2 separate regions of the Homo sapiens genome follow, and region 1 is linked to region 2. Evidence: promoter capture Hi-C in 16 types of primary human blood cells and fetal thymus (Javierre and others, 2016). All regions are on one chromosome and are shown on one strand. Each heading gives the region's core, a stretch centred on a gene start or on the middle of the fragment in contact. The rest is flanking DNA. Distances are from core to core; before and after follow the strand shown. Region 1 holds the start of PLEKHM3 (pleckstrin homology domain containing M3). Region 2 holds the start of ZDBF2 (zinc finger DBF-type containing 2).

The links. The method cuts DNA at HindIII sites, captures the fragments that hold promoters and counts their contacts. A CHiCAGO score of 5 or more calls a contact.
Region 1: a fragment that was not itself captured here is called in contact with the fragment with the promoter of ZDBF2 in region 2 in 1 of 17 cell types (total CD4 T cells); the score reaches 5.3 in total CD4 T cells.

What each region holds. Positions count from the first base shown.
Region 1 is chr2:208,024,881-208,028,981 of GRCh38, reverse strand. PLEKHM3 (pleckstrin homology domain containing M3) reads left to right here and starts at 3,455. Exons shown (of 8, transcript NM_001080475.3): 1 at 3,455-3,593. The HindIII fragment of the contact is 609 bases long and covers 1,841-2,449 here.
Region 2 is chr2:206,272,555-206,276,470 of GRCh38, reverse strand. ZDBF2 (zinc finger DBF-type containing 2) reads right to left here and starts at 1,808. Exons shown (of 5, transcript NM_020923.3): 1 at 1,525-1,808. RefSeq lists an enhancer at 951-1,450 and silencers at 1,114-1,573, 1,854-1,913. The HindIII fragment of the contact is 6,855 bases long and covers 1-2,587 here.

The sequences.
Region 1 (4,101 bases), core at 896-3,395, 1.8 Mb before region 2:
GACATACAGAGGTCCATGAGCCAGTGGCTGCCTAGCTGAGATTATTCTCAGCCCTAAATCTTTCAGCCTTTTTCTGGGATCATCCCCTTAATTCTGGTGCTGAGGATCTGTATTAGTGAGAGTGAATAAAATCAGTCATTTTGCAAACACAGCTTTTTTTGTTTTTTTTTTTTTTTTGAGATGGAGTCTTGCTCTATCTCCCAGGCTGGAGTGCAGTGGCATGATCTCAGCTCACTGCAGCCTCCGCCTCCCAGGTTCAAGTGATTCTCTGCCTCAGCCTCCGAGTAGCTGGGATTACAGATGTGTGCCATGACACCCGGCTAATTTTTGTATTTTTTAGTAGAGACAGAGTTTTGTCATGTTGGCCAGGCTGGTCTTGAACTCCTGTCCTCAAGGGATCCGCCTGCCTTGGCCTCCCAAAGTGCTGGAATTTCAGGCGTAAGCCACTGTGCCAGGCCAAAAGCAGTTTTTTAAATGCATTTTATGTCCCAGACTTCATGCTTAATCCATGAAAAACAATGACAAATCACAAACTCCTGACATCAGACTTCAAGACTAGTCTGAAAGAGTTTTTCTCAAAGGATGGTCCATGGATCACCAACTTGGGAAGCACTGAGGACCTTGTAGAAATTATGGAATTCAGGACCCTAATGTAGGTAGATCTTCAGAATAAAAATCTGTGAATGTGTGATCCAGGAATCTGCGGGGGTTTTTTTGTTTTTTGTTTTTGTTTTTGTTTTTTTTTTTGAGATGGAGTCTCACTCTGTCGCCCAGGCTGGAGTGCAATGGCATGATCTCGGCTCACTGCAACCTTTGCCTCCTGGGTTCAAGCAATTCTCCTGCCTCAGCCTCCCAAGTAGCTTGGACTACAGGCACCAGCCACCACATCCGGGTAATTTTTTGTATTTTTCGTAGAGACAGTGTTTCGCCATGTTGGCCAGGCTGGTCTCAAACTCCTGACCTCAGGTGATCCGGCCGCCTCAGCCTCCCAAAGTACTGGGATTACAGGCATGAGCCACCACACCCGGCCTAGGAATCTGCATTTTTAACAGCATTCAAGAACCTTGACACTCAAAATGCAGCATCACTTAGGAGATCATGACTGTTGGAGAGGCCCCATCCCAGACTTACTGTATCAGATTCTGCATTTTGACAGAATTCTTACCCGTTAAAGTTTGAGAAACACCATCCTAGAAGATTCTGTTCCATGTGAATTTTGAGAACCACCAATCCAATGGAAGACTGATCTGTGTAGCACAATGTAATGGGTACATTTATAAAGGAACACATGAGATCCTCTAGGAGTGCATAAAAGGAGCAGGTTCCCCTATCAGGCAAGGTTTCCAGAAGAGGTGTGATGTCATCTGCTTTTTTTTTTTTTTTGAGACAGCGTCTCGCTCTTTTGCACAGGCTGGAGTGCACTGGCTCAATATCAGCTCACTGCAACCTGCGTCTCCTGAGTCCAAACGATTCTAGTGCCTCAGCCTCCTAAGTAGCTGGGATTACAGGTCGTGTGCCACCATGCCTGGCTAATTTTCGTTTTAGTAGAGACAGGGTTTCACTATGTTGCCCAGGCTGGTCTCGAACTGCTGGCCTCAATCAATCCACCCGCCTCGACCTCCCAAAGTGCTGGGATTACAGGCGTGCACCGCCATGCTCTGCTAATTTTTGTATTTTTAGTAGAGATGAGGTTTTATCATGTTGGTCAGTCTGGTCTCGAACCGCTGGCCTCCAGCGATCCACCCGCCTTGGCCTCCCTAAGTGCGTGGATTACAGGCACGAGCTACCACACCCGGCCTTTTTTTTTTTTTTTTTTAGAGTGAAAGTTTATTAAAAAGCTTTAGAGTAGTAATGAAGGGAAGGAAAAGAAGAAAAGAACACTTGGAAGAAGACCAAGCAAGTGACTTGAGAGACCAAGCACCTGTTACCTGCTTCTTAAAGAGCAAAGAGAAATTAGCCAGCCTAAGTAAGAGGATGGGCCAGGAGTGAGAACTCTCATCAGAGGGAATCACATGTACAAAGTCCTGAGGCAAAAGAGAATACTGCAAATATTCTCTTTTGGTAATTAAAACAAAACAAAACAAAAAATGTACCTCTGGCCAGGTGAGGTGGCTCACACCTGTAATCCCAGCACTTTGGAAGGCAAGGAAGAAGGATTGCCTGAGGCCAGGAGTTCAGGATCATCCTGGGCAACACAGGGAGACCTTGCCTTTACAAAAAAAAAAAAAAGAGAAAGAAAGAAAAAAGAAGTTAGCCACGTTGTGGTGATGCGTGCCTGTAGTCCTAGCTACTCAGGAGGCTGAGTTGGGGGGATCCCTTGAACCCAGGAGTTCAGGGCTGCAGTGAGCTATGATCGTGCGACTGCACTCTGGCCGGGGCACAGAGTGAGATCCTGTCTCTAGCAAAACAGAAAAAAAAGTACCTCAAATTGCAGGGTTTAAAGAAAGCTTATTTAAACTTTGAATATCAACCAAAGGAAATTTTTTCTTAACTCAAAGCTTAAAGATTTGCTTATTAATCTTCTGGAGGGTGGGAAGGTGGGAAGAGGAATCAGAGTTTTAGATTTCTGTTTCATCCCTGACCCCTTTGACCTTTTTTTTTTTTTATCATTCCTTTGTTCATTCATTTATTCAGATATATATACATTGGGCCTGTGCTAGGTGCCTACTAGATGGTGGTGAGTGAAACTGAAATAGTGCCTGCCCTCAGGGAGTTTATAGGTGAGATGGGTGAGCGTGGGAAAACCAATAAAACTGATAAATAAGTGTGTACTTATAAAGTGAGAAAATGGCTAAGAAGTGTGCTATGATGGAAAACAGACAGGAAACTGCAAGGAAGGTCTGTCCAATCAGACCAGCATATCCCTGCAAAGCGACCACAGTCACTGCAGGTGGGATGTGGGCGGTCTTACCAGGCAGTCCTGCCCGCGTGCACACACACGCACACCCTATTTTGCTGGGAATCCGCAAGTGGGGGTGAAGACCTCACCTCAAAACCACCCCTTTTCAACCTGCGTAGGAAAGGACAGTGAAAACGGATTTTCACTGCAGCCCCAAAACCGGAAATGAGAAGCAATCTCCAGAATAGTCCCACTTTTGGAAAGAACTTATTTGAGTAATTAATTCCCTTAGACAAGGGAGCTGCTAAAAACCAGCCCGATCCTGACATGTTCTAAGTGACATTTTCCAATCGCAAACACCCATTTTGGCGTTGGGTGGAGCAGTGAGGAGACTCCACGACACACGCCATTGCTTTCACAATGTGTACAAGAGGAACTGTATATAAGAAAGCAAAGAAATAAGGAGGCCTGGCGGGTGCGGTCAGGCCTTGCCTAGCTGCCGGGTCCCTCGGGCAGGAAAGACTCGTCCTCGCGGCCTGGAACCTTGTGTGTCCGGCTCTGGCTGCCCGGGCCGCCGGCGGAAGCATTTCAGAGTGGGACCGCGAGAAGCCGCTTGTAAACAGAGCCGGGCCGGGATGGTCAGCGCCCGGGCGGGCTGTCACCGTGAGGCGGGCGGCAGGCTGCGGGAGTCAAGCCCCTCCAGGAGCGGACTGAAGGCCCCGCAGGTGAATGGAGAGTAGCAGCCGGGGCCCAGGTGAGCATCCGTCTGCTTCTGTGCTGCCTGGCCGGCCAGTTTGGGGGATGGGGTGGGGACGACTGCATTGTAAATATCCGAGCAGCTCCCAGGGATAGCAGTGATTTTGCTGTTTCTTGCATGCTCAGGTTTTTATTACGTGCTGGAGATTGTACCACACTGCAATGGCTAATGGGTGAGGGGAGATTACATGATGCATTGTCTGCTTATTTTTGTGAATCAGGTATGTAATAGGAGGAGAAAGTAGTTGAAATAGTAGGTGATCTTGTTGAGTGCGTTATTAGTATCCCTGCCATCCCCGCCTGGGGATTATAAAACCAAACCCCAGCAGAGCTTTTAACCTACATCAGGCTGGGGCTTCCAGAAAACGATTGTTCTTTCTGTCGACTCTGTCCGTTTTTAATGTATAGTAAATGACACCACATGACTGATGACAAGCATGGTTTGGTCTTGTAGGAAAGAATTATTAAGCTAAAAAATCAAGATAAGAAAATCTCACACTCATCCC
Region 2 (3,916 bases), core at 559-3,058:
AATAAAACTAATGTCTAGTTTAATTGCATCTTGCTCATTTGAGTGCTGACAGTACCTTGGATTAGCGACTCTCAAGATTATTTAACATGACACACAGGAACCAATAAATTTTTAATTACAACCGAGCACACACGCACAGGCACATACGCACACTTAAAAGATTTTTCACAAAACAATACTCTCATTACATGTAATGCAGTCTGATATTTTCTATGCGATCTTACTTTTTTTAATGCTAGTCACGACCCACTAAATTTCACAATGCACACGCGCACAGTTAAAATATTTTTCACAAAACAATACTCTCATTACATATAATGCATTCTGATTTTTTTATGCGATCTTATTTTTTTTTAAATGCTAGTCATGACTAAATTAATTTCACCATTCACGAACCGGCTGAAAAAACTCAGTTTGAAAAAACACTGCCTCCAATTATTATGCAGAGTAAACCATATTTTATAGAAACCAGTTCTTACCCTGAATTCAGCTTATTTCTATCCAAATCACTGGCCACTGCAGTGATACTTTATCAACTCTCTAACGAGTTGCTTTCTTGCCTTCTAGGCTTTAGGTTCAAACGATAGAGAAAAGGTCTTCCACGTATTAAGTGAAAAAAGCAAATAAACACCCCTTATGTAACACACGTATATATGTTTGTGTATTAATTAAAAAGGAAGGAAAGATACCCCCCAAATTGTTAGCAGATTCTCTCGAGGATGAGATCGCTACAGGCTGCCTCCATCGTCCCTCCCCCTCCCCACACGTAGCATATTGCTGTAAAAAAGAAAAACAAAAACAAGCTATTTCCTTTAGGTGGGGGTGGGGTTTTGGTCCCTTGAGAACCAGTATCTTGTTATGCATTTTTTTCACGAGCTACCAAGAATCATCGCGTGAGATAATCGCAGGAGCTGGTAAGGCCCTTCTTAGGAGCAAGTAAAAACGATGGCGTAACACGACCACATTTACACAACTGTTGCACGGCGGTAGTAAAAGAATCATTAACACAAAAATCAAACGTTTTCAAATAAACTATAATCGCCCGAGGCTGGGAAAGGCCTAGGTCTGGGGCCAGCTGGACCCAACGCAGGGCACTGGGGGAAGGGGGTGTGTGGACAGGTGGCTCGGGATCTCGGCCCCACAGGTGCCCAGGGGCAAGACTCCGCGGGTTCCCGGCCCTCAATCCGACCCCGCAGACCGCCCCCTCCCCAAGCCCGGACCCGAGGCCTCGTCCGCCGGCCCCTCTGACCCAGGGCCCCGGACAGAAGCGCAATGCAGCCTGCGCCCCACCTCCTTCCCTCGCCCCGCCACCTCGATCCCGGCCCGGAGCCGCCGACACCTCTCACGCAGCAGGGGCAGAAAGGGACGCGGGGTGGGGGGAAGCCGAGGACCTGCGAGGCGGCCGCGGGAGCCCAGCGAGCGGTCCTGGCGTCCCTCGGGAAGAAGGCGCCCCGGGCGCCCGGCGAGCAGGCCCCGCCCGCGGGCGTCGCCCCGGCCGCGCCCCGCCCCCGCCGCGGCACTCACCTCCGCGGAGGCTGCCCGGATTCCTTCCGGGCCGCGGTGGAGACCGAGGACCGAGCCGGGCGCTCTCCCTTCTTATTCCGGTTCCGCGGCGGCGCCCGAATCCCAGACCGTCCGAGCGCCACGGCCCCGCTGCCCGCGGAGCCAGAAATAGGCGACTTCGGCCCCTGCGGTCCGGAGGCGAGAAGCGGCGCGGGAGCGCGTCTCTCAGGACGCGGGCCCCGAGTCGCGACTCCACTCACGCAGGCATCCAAGGCAACGTGGCGTTGCAACCCTGATGGAGGTTTGACGTCAGGGAAGGTGCGAAAACCAGACCCCTTCTGACGCAGGAGCGGCGGGACCGCCCCCTGCCCGCCCACCCACTCACTCACTCTCCCACCCGGGCGGAGGAGCCCCTTCCTCCCCTCCAGAAGCTCTTAAAGCGGACACTTCCTCCCTGGTCAGGGCCCCACTCCGGAGCTTGGGAAATCTATCGCGTTCCAACAAAAATGACTAGACTCATAAGCACAGTTGGGACGCGAAGTAGAGACCAAGGTTTTAGCGTTTGAGGGTCCAAATAAAAACTGCTTGCCAATTCAAAGCAACGTATGAATGTAGAAAAGAAAACGGGGCTAAGAGAGCTAGTCGTTTCCGTTTCCATGCCTATTTCATAGTGAGGTGCATCTCACAAAAGCTGCTGTTCAATGAGCGCTTGCTCTGTGCTAGGCACCGTTTAAGGTTTCTATACATTATTGCATTTCATTTCAGAGTAACTCTGAATGAATCCTATTATTGTCCCCCTTTGACAAATTGAGAAAACTGAGGCTTAAGGAAGTTAGGTATTCAAAGATCTATCCTGCACATTAAAGGGTTACAAATATTAACAAACAACATTAGGTCATGCAATTATATTCACTGCGCTACCCCATTACGAATATAGTTGTGAGCAAAAACAGTTTAAGTGTAACGGAGATCACAAACCTAAATGAATCACACTACTGAATATGAAATTATAATCTGCGATAAGAAGGTTCTGAAACACCTAAACCAATTTTACTAAAATGGAGAGAGGCCCTGTTGCAAAGCTTATGTCTAATGTAAAAATAATCTTAAAATGAGCTACTTTGCTCTTTGGCTGTAGCTGTAATTGTCGTTACCCTTTTTAGTAAGCTTGTGATTTTGTCCCTTTAAAGAACAACAACAAAAAAACTTGCCTATTGCTTTTGCGTCCATTGTTTTTATTCTTTCTGTATTTCTCAGCTCCTTCTTCCCCCACTACATCTTTCTCTCACTTTAAAGTTGGGCTCCTGCAACTGTTCGATTTATAACCTCCCTTAGATTTAACATACCAAAAAGTACGGATTTCTTTTAAGGCAAGTTTTTTCCACATCCCAACTTTGGAATTATAGAAAATCCACTATACATTGATCGAAGCACCATGACATTATGTATTTCACAGATGCTAAGCCATGTTTTTCCCCACATTTTAACATCTGTGAAATCAAGATGCATCTTATAAACTCTCGTTGACCGGGTGGCAGTACAGACCTGGTTGTCATTACCTCCACGTATTACAACGTGGATGTTGCTGTGCAGGTTGTCCTCATTTCAACTGAGATAAGTGCATTGTTTAATAAAACCCATAACCCTAGGAGGAAGGGAATTAACAGACAAAAGTCACTCAAACTTGGAGAGAGATTTTCCTAGGGAAAGAGGGAAGATTTGCCTGGAGAAGATTTTCCTAGGACCAAAAAGAGATTTCCCCAGCATTTAGAAAAGAAAGAGATGGGACTGGCTAAGAACTAGTAGTCTTCTGGGAGCCCTGAGTTACTTACCAAGTACATTCATTCTTGATGGATTTTGGGAACCCATATATGAACAGTTAAATACTAAGCCTACTTGCACCCCCCAAAAATGAAATAACTTCGATATTATTCTTGATAGCCTGATTAGTCAGTTACAACCCCTACAGCTTTTATTCAATAACACCATTGAAGGAGGAAAACAAGTCCTGAATGTTTTGCGTGAAAACACAAAATTGACATATTCAGGTGAGATCAAGAAGGTGCCAGCATCAAAACTTGCAGAATAAGATCAGCTGCTTGGAAGAAAATCCTGCATACAATAGTGCAGCATTCTTCCTTCCTTTCTCTCCCTCTCTGTTTTTTGTTTTTGTTTTTGTTTTTGTTTTGAGACAGGGTCTCCTTCTGTCACCCAGGCTGGAGTTCAGTGGCGCAAACACGGCTCACTGCAGCCTTGACCTCCCAAGCTCAAGCGATCTTCTTGCCTTAGTCTCCAAAGTGGCTGGGACCACAGGCGTGTGCCACCATGCCTGGCTAATTTTTTTACTTTTTGTAGAGATGGGGGTTCTCACTTTTTTGCCCAGGCTGGTCTCGAACTCCTGGCTTCAAGGGAT